Linked DNA regions of Homo sapiens: region 2 is linked to region 1. Evidence: promoter capture Hi-C in 16 types of primary human blood cells and fetal thymus (Javierre and others, 2016). All regions are on one chromosome and are shown on one strand. The core of a region is centred on a gene start or on the middle of the fragment in contact, and the rest is flanking DNA. Distances in the headings are between cores, read along the strand shown.

What was found. The method cuts DNA at HindIII sites, captures the fragments that hold promoters and counts their contacts. A CHiCAGO score of 5 or more calls a contact.
Region 2: a fragment that was not itself captured here is called in contact with the fragment with the promoter of EGR4 in region 1 in 1 of 17 cell types (fetal thymus); the score reaches 5.4 in fetal thymus.

Annotation. Positions count from the first base shown.
Region 1 is chr2:73,290,296-73,295,750 of GRCh38, forward strand. It overlaps EGR4 (early growth response 4), which reads right to left and starts at 3,253. Exons shown (of 2, transcript NM_001965.4): 1 at 2,887-3,253; 2 at 634-2,486. The coding sequence starts at 3,022. The coding sequence ends at 1,162. RefSeq lists an enhancer at 844-1,539 and a silencer at 3,536-3,615. The HindIII fragment of the contact is 1,844 bases long and covers 2,769-4,612 here.
Region 2 is chr2:73,775,891-73,781,345 of GRCh38, forward strand. It overlaps DUSP11 (dual specificity phosphatase 11), which reads right to left and starts at 4,213. Exons shown (of 9, transcript NM_003584.3): 1 at 3,984-4,213; 2 at 2,411-2,486. The coding sequence starts at 4,084. RefSeq lists enhancers at 3,705-3,854, 3,985-4,034, 4,115-4,184. The HindIII fragment of the contact is 2,270 bases long and covers 1,611-3,880 here.

The DNA of each region.
Region 1 (5,455 bases), core at 2,003-4,502:
ATACTGTCTGGAGCCTCTGTGACACTGAACACTCTGGGCTTTCACAAACAGCACCAAAATACTGCAGCCTTTTGCTGTTGTCGCTACTGCCTGGAGCTCCCTCTAGCTGCCAAACCTGTTTCTCACCTTCTGGTAGGAAGCCTTTCCAATCAGTGCTATTAAGTTTAGGTGTCTCCATTCTGGGGTTGGAAAATGAGGGTTGGCTTTGAAGTTGGACAGATTTGTTTGACCTGTCTGTTCCTAGCCTGGGTTAACTACATTGTTCCAGCAAGCTATCTACATTGCTTCCACATCTTTGAAATGAGGTATATGCCTGCTTTATTTGGGAATGCGAGGATTAAGGAGAATAATATATACATAATGTTGAACACCTACGCCTTTTAACCACTTTGAAGTTCCAGAAACACCTCCAGCCCTTAGGTGAGCTGTGATTAAATTCGTTCATTAACCCAACACACATTTACTGAATGCCTACTCTGTGCCGCAGTTCCTGGCAGGTGTGCCTGACAGTGGGTGTGTAATATGTTCAGGGTCTGTATCCCATGAGCGTGGGGATCTCCTTTATCTTCTGGCACATATGGTCCTGGGGGAGAAGCTAAGGGGAAGGGTCAGGAGCTTACATGGCAGATTCAGTAAGCTTTTAGCACAATAATTTTAATTGCAAAAATAAACAGTTTTGTCAACTGCTTGAGAGTAGCGTCTGCTTTACAAAAATTAACAACAACAAAAGGAAAAAAAACCCAAAGCAAAACGTTACATCCAATGGCTGCTGGATAAGACACTGCTGTACAAAGTCCCGCGCGAGACCGCCTTGGCGCTGCCCCAGCCTGTCTCTGGGGGTTATAGAGGAAGGCGTGGGGCGTGTGCCAGTTACAAAAGACTGTCTTGAATCCCAGGGTAGTGCCTATTCACTGGGTGGTCTCAGAAGACTTCCCCCAAAGCGCGGCTGACAAGGGTGACAGCGCCTGGACCGCGGGAACTGTCCGCGGAGCTGGTGCTGAATAGGGCGTGTGCGGCGGGCGCTTCAAGGAAACTGGAAGCGGGACCGGAGGCCGGCCCTCGGGCGTGCGAGGAGGAGTTGGAAGAAGAGCGGGGAGGGGAACGGCCCGGAACTCGTGCGCGCCGAACGGCGGCGCCCCAACCCATAAACCCATCTCTTGCTCAGAGAGAAGCGAAGGAGAGGCCCAGCGAGTAAAAGCCGAGGCCCTTGAGCCGCTCCTCGGCGCGCGCCTTCTGCTTGAGGTGCACCTTGCTGTGCCGTTTCTTCTCATCGCTGCGCGCGAAGCGGCGGCCGCACACGTCGCAAGCAAAAGGCTTCTCGCCGGTGTGGGTGCGCACGTGCGTGGTGAGGTGGTCGCTGCGGCTGAAGTTGCGGAGGCAGATGCGGCACTGGAAGGGTTTGTGGCCCGTGTGGATGCGCAGGTGGCGATTGAGCTCGTCGGAGCGCGCAAAGCTCCGCACACAACTCTCCACCGGGCAAGCGAAGGCCTTGGCGTGCGGCCGCGGGCAGAAGCAGCGCGTGCTGCATTTGCCGCCGCGGCGCCCCTTGCGTCGCGCCTTGGCCTGGGGGAAAGGGGTGGGCGGCGGCGGCGGCACGGGTGGTGCAGCCACGCCACTGCTTCCAGGGATGTCCGCCACCAGAGGTTTAGGGAAGTCCGCCGCGGCGGCGCTGCGAAGGCCCAGCGGGGAAAGCTGAGGCTGCGTACTGGCCAGAAACTCTCCGCCGTCGCCGCTACTCCCTCCCTCCCCACTAGGAGGGGTCAGGAGCCCAGGGAGGCCCTCAGCCCCCTCCCCTAAGTCACCCGGGGCCAGCGGGAAAGCGTCATAGGCCCCGCTGGGATAGAGTCTGTTGGCTGGGACGGCCGGCAGTTCCGCAGGGCAGCTGATGGACAGCAAGTCCTCAATCTTGGTCCCTATTACGGGAAAACGAGCCTCCGGGGCGGCCTGGTAGTCTCCCTGTGACCCACAGTTCCCTGGGGCCCCCACAGAAAGCAGCTCCCAGGGCGCGTAGGGACCCTTGAAGGCAGAGACAGCGTCCAGCGCTGGCGAGGCGGGAGGCGCCCGGAGGCCGGGCTTGACGTCGGGCGGGGAGAGCTGAGGCTCATACAGGCACTGCGAGGGGGCACCCGCGCAAGGCGAGGCCTCCCAGAACGCCTCTGGGAAAGGGGCAGCGCCCAGATCCGGGGAGTAAAGGTCCGGCGGACCCGGCAGCAAGGCATCGGACCCCGCAGGAAAAGGGGCATCCAGCGGGGATCTGGACGCTGCTGCCTCTGGACCGGGGAAGGGTGCCAGGCCTAAGATGCCCGACATGAGGTTGAAGAGTGCCTCCGGGTCGTGCGGGTGTTCGGGCACTGCCTGAATGAAGAAGCTACCGCTGTAGCTGAGGCCGGGAGGGGGTGTGGGCGCAGGCCCCTCCAGGAAGCAGGAGTCGGCTAAGTCCCCACTTGCGCCGCAGCTGTTCAAAGCCCAGCTCAAGAAGTCGCCTGCTGAGGAGGGAGCAGGAATCAGCTCTGGGCACATCAAAGGGTGCACCTGAGTCCACAGCCCCTACCTACAAAACTCTTGGTGCCCACGGATATACACAAAGTGCCTTTTGCACATTCTGATTCAGCAGGGGCCCGCATACGTCCCAAGGAGCACATAGAAACATGCACACGCAAAACACACGTGCACAGGCAAAAGGGCGCTCCGATAACCGCACAGGTTCCTGCGGAGGCGCTGGCGGCCCAGTGTGGGTGGGAATGGGGGTGCGCACCCCAGGACTCCTAAGCTTCCCATCGCCCCTATTCTCATAGCTCCAATGTCCCAGTCCCTCCTGGTTCTCAGGTATGGTGCGCCCCCGCGCTGCGCCGTCGTCGTCTGAGCACCCCTGCTCGCCCTCCTTACCTCCAGGGTAGCCGGTGGCCGCGGGAGCGTCCCTGGCAGGCAGCCGGGGCAATTCAGCGCTGGGTTCGGCGCAACAGCCTTCAGTGGACTTGACGAGGAGCGCGTCGGGTTCGGAAAACTCGCTAAGGTGGAGCATGGCGCGGCGCCGGCTGTGGGGCGCCCGGGGCCTCGCCCGCTGGGCTTGGGGGCGCGCGGGTGGCGGGGAGGCTGGCGGTAGGGGTTCCCCGCAGCGCACAGACCTAGGCGCCCGGGCTCCTGGCTTCGGGCACTCACCTCTGGGAAAGGAGTCGGGGAGCCGCGGCGCCCTCGCTCGCCCGCACCGGCCTCGGGCGGCGGCTCCTCGCCTCTCCAAAGCGCTGCCGGGCTCCCCCAGCCCACAGCCCCCCCACTTATATAGCTGCGGCGGCGCTGGCTCCGGGCTTCCGACTCCCCGGGCCACTGCCATTTTGGGAGGCCCCGGCCCTGCCGCCGTGACGTAAATGCCCAAACATGGACACAGGATGTGTGCCGGGGACTCCCGAAAAGGAAAGCTCGAGCTGTGACGTTGTTGTTGTCGCCGCCGCCGCCAGGCTCGCGCCGCTGCGTGCGCGCGCGCTCCCCAGGCGTGGAGCGCTGGGGCCGCGGATGCGCCAGTCTGGGGCGCTGCGCCTCACCGGGCCGACCGTCCGGTAGATGCGCTTCCCACCTGGAGGCAGAGGCCGAGGGGCAGCAGGGGAGGACCGTGTTGGGTTTGAATCTGCCCTCTGCCACTAACTAGCTTGACACTCAGTCCCCCTTAACGTCAGTTTCTCACCTGTGCATTTCCTGTGGAGAGAAACTGAGAGCACATAAATGTCCAGGCGCACTCAGTAAACCACAGAGATTATTGCCATTCATTTCTTTTGCTCACGCCTGTGTGTTTTTCCATTTTAAGTTTTTTTTTTTTAAATTTGTGCTAGGAAAAATAATTTAAATTAAAAAGGACTGTAATACTTGTTAACAGTAGGAGGAAAGTCAACTAGCACAACAGGGTATATTCTAAATTGAAAAGTAAAAGTCCCTCCTCTCCACCTACCTTCATTCCTAGCTCCTGAGGTAGCCACATTTAAGTTTCTTGGGTATTCTTTCAGAAGAATTTTATGTATATCCAACCATACACATTGTTCTGCAATATTATTATTATTATTATTTTTTCACTTGAAATAACTTAGAGATTGTGCCATGTCCTGACATAAAGATCTTGTCATTCTTTTTCAAGGCTGTATAGTACTCCATTGTAAGGGAGGACCTTGAGTTAGTCGATTTGTCCCCTATCCATGAGCATGTAGGCAGTTTCCAACTTTTTACTTATACCAATGTTGTTGGAGTCAACATCCTTGACTATATAAATGTGAATGTGTCTGTGAGATAAATTCCAACGAGTGTAATTGTGTGCCAAAGTATATGTAAAATTTTGATAGACAACTGGCAAATTGTCTTCCAGAAAAGTAGGGCCAATTCCTGCTCACTCCTCCCTCACCCACAGGGTATGAGATGCTTCTGCAGAACATTTTTTCTGCCTTCATACAAATGGCTTTCGCTCTAAGGATGTTGATCCCAGCAACACACAGGGAATCCGTGGGAAATATCTCCCTGGAATCAGTACTTGAAATAATTGGGCTTCTTTTGAGAAAAAAAAAAAAAATCCTAGCCTTAAGGAGGCTGTGAATCTTGGCTGCAGAAGCATCAGAGCCAACTCCAGCAAAGAAGCTTGCCTACTCTCCTAGTCTCATCTCTCTTCTGCTGTGGTTTTCCCTCTGTCTCATTCTCTCATTCTTTTTAAAATGTTTATTTTATTTTGTATTATAGCTCACTTAACTCCTTTCTGGAACCAAATTAAATAAATACATGGGGGGGAAGGATTAAATAAATACATGGAATAGCATGTTCTTCTTTATGAAGAGCATCAATTCCTGAGACTCTGTGTGCTGGAGGGTAAGGTGGGCAGGTTTAGGGCTCCTCCTTCCTTCTCTCCTTTTTTGAAATAGAAACAAAGCCCTTTGGGGGTGGTGGACTCAGCATCATGGGCAGTATAGCTCCCAGCCTCTCTTCCACCCCTGTACCCTCTTTTTCAAGAGAGAGAGAGAGAGCCCAAGAATGCCCAAACCCCACCACATTCTCAGTCCTTTCACCCTATGTCCATTATCCAAACATCCATTCAGTTTCTCAATGTTCATTCATTCAGTATTCATTTCTTAAGTGCCTATTACAGGCCAGAAGGTAGACTTTGGTTTTATGTCTGCTGGGACCCTGAGCCCCATCTCCAGCACTAGGTGCCCACTCCTCATCCCACAGTGACCTTATTAAGTGTTTTCACAGAATATGTCCCTTCACACAATCACCTGCAAAACATATGCTGACACACTTGTATGCATCTTCTCCTGAAGTCCACAAATCATATAAAGGTTCTCACAGGGTCATGCACTTGCAGTGTGTCTTACTAAATGGCTACACCTATGGTTCTGTGTTAGTAGCACATATATGAGCATGTAGGAAATGCAGAAACCCAGCAGATGTCTGTAAAGATTGGACACACCAAGCACGATTTTCC
Region 2 (5,455 bases), core at 1,496-3,995, 490 kb after region 1:
GATAGGGTCTTGCCGTCTTGCCATGTAGCCCAGGCTGATCTCAAACTCCTGAGCTCAAGCAACCCTCCTGTCTCGGCCTCACAAATAAATATTTCTCACATGTCTACATATATGAAGGATGGCTTTCATTGCTGAATATTCTTTTATGTATGTGGCTTATTTTTGAACTTTATGCTCTGTTCCTTCAATCTGTCTGGCTACTCAGGTGCCAGCAATGTACTTTTTAAAAAATAGACTAGTTTGGCTGGGTGCGGTGGCTCAAGCCTGTAATCCCAGCACTTTGGGAGGCCGAGGCAGGAGGATCACGAGGTCAGGAGATCGAGACCATCCTGGCTAACACGGTGAAACCCCATCTCTACTAAAAACACAAAAAAATTAGCCAGGCGTGGTGGCAGGCGCCGGTAGTTCCAGCTACTCAGGAGGCAGAGGCAGGAGAATGGCGTGAACCCAGGAGGCAGAGCTTGCAGTGAACCAAGATCACACCACTGCACTCCAGCCTGGGCGACAAGCGAGACACCATCTCAAAAAAAAAAAAAAAAAAATAGACTAGTTTTCAGAGCAGTTTTAGGTTCACAGCAAAACTGAGCCAAAAGGACAGATAGTTCCCACATGTACTTTGCCTTCCCCAACCCACCCAGACTCCCCCACTATCCACATTCCATACCAGTGTGGTCCATTTGTTACAAATGAAGAACCAACTCTGACACATCGTTATCACCAAAGTCTAGAGGTTAGGTATGCGTGATTCATTCTATGTTATGCATTGTATGTACATATTATGTTATATATATTTTGCCACAAAAAAAATGAGAGAAAGAACTAAGTTCAAGTTTTGATTCTTCCTTTTCTGAGCCTGTTTGATTATCTACAAAATTATTTATTAGATGTAACCATCTATTCTCTGAGCTTAGTGCAGAATAAGCACTCAGTAAGAGATATTAGTACTACTGCTACTTCATCAGCACAGGATTGTTGTGAAATGTGTTAATATACGTGAAGCCCTTTTATAGGTTTTGATCAATATATAACATGTATCCACCCTTAGAGTATCACACAGAATAGTTTCACTTCCCTAAAAATTCCCTGTGTCTCCAACACCTTCTTTTTGGAGACAGGGTCTTGCTCTGTTGCCCAGGCTGGAGTACAGTGGCATGATCATGGCTCACTGCAGCCTTGACCTCCTGGGTTCAATCGATCCTCCCACTTCAGCCTCCTGAGCAGCTGAGACTACAAGCACACGCCACCGCGCCTGGTTAATTTTTGTATTTTTTGTAGAGACACGGTTTCAGTGTTGCCCAGGCTGGTCTAAAACTCCTGGACTCAAGCGATACACCCACCTTGCCTCCCAAAGTACTGGATTACAAACATGATCCAACAGGCCTGGCCTGAAATGACTCATTTTTAAGCCCAGACATGCAGAGAAGCTGACACAGCAGTTGAAAAAGGAAATCTGATCTATAAGTCACAAATTAAGTAAATTCCCAAAACGTTTCAAGTAGGCTTCTCCTGATACTAATCTGAGCTATGCTGGGGAAGTCTAATAAGAAAGACATGGAATCTAGAAAACAATTATTTGTCTTCACCTTCTCATCTTTTTTATGGCTGTCAAAAGCTTTCCCCTCCTATCCCTCCTATTCCTTTCCTAGTTTAAACAAAAATACAATCTTCAGATTTTCCCCACTGAAATCCTGACCTTGATGATCCGGGGGATATTTCTGATTGTGACCATGGAAGGAAAGGAGTCCCACTGGCATTCAGTGGGTAAGGGTTACAAATTCTAAACAACTTGCCAAATTCAGGACAGTCCTACAAATGTGTCCCACATCCTGAATGGCTTTTGGATGTCCTATTCAAGATTAATATAGATAAAAAGCTGTTCATATTTAGCTTGGCCTCAGAACCTAACTCCATTTCACAAATAAACACAAAGTATTTTTTGTACAATACTAATATATATTGAATTTTCCAGGATAATAATCACCTTATCAACCAAATGAAGATTATACTTTGTTATATTTGGAAATCTATTACAGAAACTCCTACCACTAAAGCAATACAACCCACCTAGATCAGTCTACATTTGTAATTCTTGAATTCATGGCGCAGGCAACTATTACTCTATGTCTTTTAATGTAGTCATGTCCAAACATTTATATATTGAAATAAATATTATTTTATTATAAATTACTTTTATTTTATTTTTTATATTATAGTTAGGGTGTTAATTGGTATTTTTGTTTAAAATATGAAGTAGGTTGTATGTACCTATGAACTTCATTTCAGGATAGTAAAGGGGTCATTACAAAGTATTTGCTATAAAAAGAGAAAATGGAATGTGATAGAGTGGAGAGCAGTGTTCTGCATGGTGAACTCAGATGCCTGAAAGAATACTGAATTAACTTTTGCTTACCTTTTGCAAAGGAACTTTGAAAGCAATGAAACGAGTCCCAGGCATCCGCTGTCCAACTGGGAGATAGTCTTTCCACCTATTAGATATATTTTTTGTTAGCCAAATTGTATGTTAGCCTTGTTTCCTTGCACAAAATAAGACTTTTTGAAAATGGGAATCATAGCCCGCACAACATGTCCTCTCTCCTCTCTGCTTTGCATTTCGCCACTCCACTTATTAAACCCCACCAAGTAACGACCTATACCGTCCTTCTCTCCTGTTTCCCCATCATAAAAACGAACACAAGCCAACACAACAGTACAACTCAAATAAGGCCTATATAAAACCGGAGATACCCAGAACTTCTGTATCCCTGTTAAACTTGGCCCAGTACCAGATACTAAAGTGCCATTAATACAAACATATTCACTGAAATAATTTAAATTCAATTATTTCACTTCACGCTTTTAGTTTTCATACGACTGATGCCATAAAGTTCAATTAGTAGGAAACTTCAAGTTCATATTTTAAGAGAAAACCTGCTAGAAGAGGGACTGTGAACTTCACTTAATAATGCTAGGAACTGGCCGGGCGCGGTGGCTCACGTCTGTTAATCCCGGCAATTTGGGAGGCTGAGGCAGGTGGATCACCTGAGGTCAGGAGTTCGAGACCAGCCTGACCCACATGGTGAAACCCCATCTCTACTAAAAATACAAAAAAAATTAGCCGGGTGTGGTGGCGGGCGCCTGTAATCCCAGCAACTTGGGCGGCTGAGGGAGGAGAATCGCTTGAATCCGGGAGGCGGAGGTTGCAGTGAGCCGAGATTGGACCATTGCACTCCAGCCTGGCGGAGAAGAGCAAAAATCCATCCCAAAAACAAAAACAAAAAAACGGATTGGAAGAAAACAAACAGGAGATTCACTAATTAGAACCCCACTGCAATAAGTCAGGCAAGACCTGTATTAGGGTACTGACAGAAAGTGACAGTCAAAAGATAGTAGATAAAATGAAGAGGATTTATTGAGGTATGAGATGGTGGAGGATGGTCTCAAGGAGTAAAAACAGTTCAATGCACCTACGTGCAAAGTCTCAAAATTAATCATTTGTACGTATAAAGGAGTTATCTTTCAAATGAGGCCTGTTAGGAAGTAACAAAGTATGCTCTTTGTGATTTCTGGAAACAATACAAACCAACTTTCCATGTGAGATCTCAGGGCGCTACTACTGCTGGGTTCCTAACTCAAACCATTACACTTTCCGTGCCAACGTAACAAGGAATTGAGGAGGTTCCATTTTGGGAATTAAGGAGTGTCCCCAACAGTAACAGTCCCACCTTAAAGCAATCCTTCCGTATTTTACCTAAGAGCAATGGCCAGAACCTCCCTTTTACAAGAATATGGAGAAATCACAGGACATCACAGACATCGCCCCTTTCAGCTACAGCGGGTGGCGCAGAGGGTCAAAGCCTCAAAGCAAGCGGCGGACAAGTCAAGCTTGCGATGGCAACGGCGAGAGGCAGAGACCACAAACGATGAAGCCCAGACCCAGAAGCCACGAGCTGGAAAGGCCACGCCAAGGGACCAAGACATACTACCTTTCGGGGATGTGGTTTCCGCCCTTCTTCTTGGCTGAGGAGCGTCCTGAAAAGTCGCGTCTCCGGCCCCAGCCACTGCGGGGATGATGCCACTGGCTCATGTGGGTCCCAAGAAGCCGCCCACCCAATGCCAAGTCGGCCAAAAGCGCCAGTCCGGCGCCCTCAATGCCAGGATAAGACCCTAAACAGGAAAAGACTCGGCAGCCACCTACGCCGCGCTCCAGCGTCTCGCTATTGCGCATGTGCCACCGCCGGTCGTGATGGCGTAGCCACGCTGGCTTACTGAGACTCCTGATCTGTAAACAGGACTTTGGTGGCTACAGCGCCCTCTTTAGCCAGAGGCCAGTAGCACAGGTCAATAAGGGCGTGTATGCACCCTTCAGAATTCAAACAGTGAGGCACAGGGAAGTCCCTCTGCCCGATCCGCCCCACGCCCCGGTTCCTTGTGTGTTCTTCTAGATATTTACCAGCGCTTACATTCACATTTTGCATATTTTGTATACATATTTACTTTCACATATATGTATATCCTCTATTTTTATACAAAAGGAGTAACTGTACATATTCTACAGTATACCTTAAACACTGATTATCCCAGTCAATTTATGCATACATAGATTCTATTTTTAATGGCTATAGGCAATTTACTTGCTTATGAGTAACATAATTAAAAGTACCATAACGTATTTAGCCAGTTCAATATTAATGGACCTTTAGTTGTTTTCAGGTTCTTTTCAAATCTTGTTACAGACAATGCTGCAATGTGAACATCCTTATACATATATACAACTATATCTAAATTCCTAGAAGTAGAATGTCTGGAATGAAACACATACAAACTTAAAATTTGGAAAGATACTACCTAATTACCCTCCAAAAATAATGTAGAAACATACACTCCCATCAAAGCCAAACTTTTATTGGGTTCCTATCACATACCAGGTATCATGCTAGAGGTGGACAGAATGTATTTAAGTTTTAGCAAATACAAAAAATAACTGAGAGTGGAGCTCAAGTCCAAGGTTTCCACACAGTCTCAAGCATAAAGATCTGTACCCGTTAGAAAAACGTTCAATTCTGCTAAAAGTGGAACTACAAAGGACAGCATACCCTATAGCAGCTTTGAAAATAGAATAGAGTACTAAATTCCAGATTAAACTGTAAGTAATTATGATTGCAGACTTTTTTTTTTTTTTTTTGAGACCCAGTCTCACTCTGCCACCAGGCTGGAGTGCAGTGGTGCCATCTCAGCTCACTGCAACCTCCGCCTCCCGGGTTCAAGCAATTCTCCCTGCCTCAACCTCCTGAGTAGCTGGGACTACAGGTGCATGCCACGACTCCCAGCCAATTTTTTGTATTTTAGTAGAGACAGGGTTTCTCCATGTTGGCCAGGATGGTCTCGATGTCTTGACCTCATGATCAGCACTCCTCGACCTCCGAAAGTGCTGGGATTACAGGCTTGAGCCACCGCA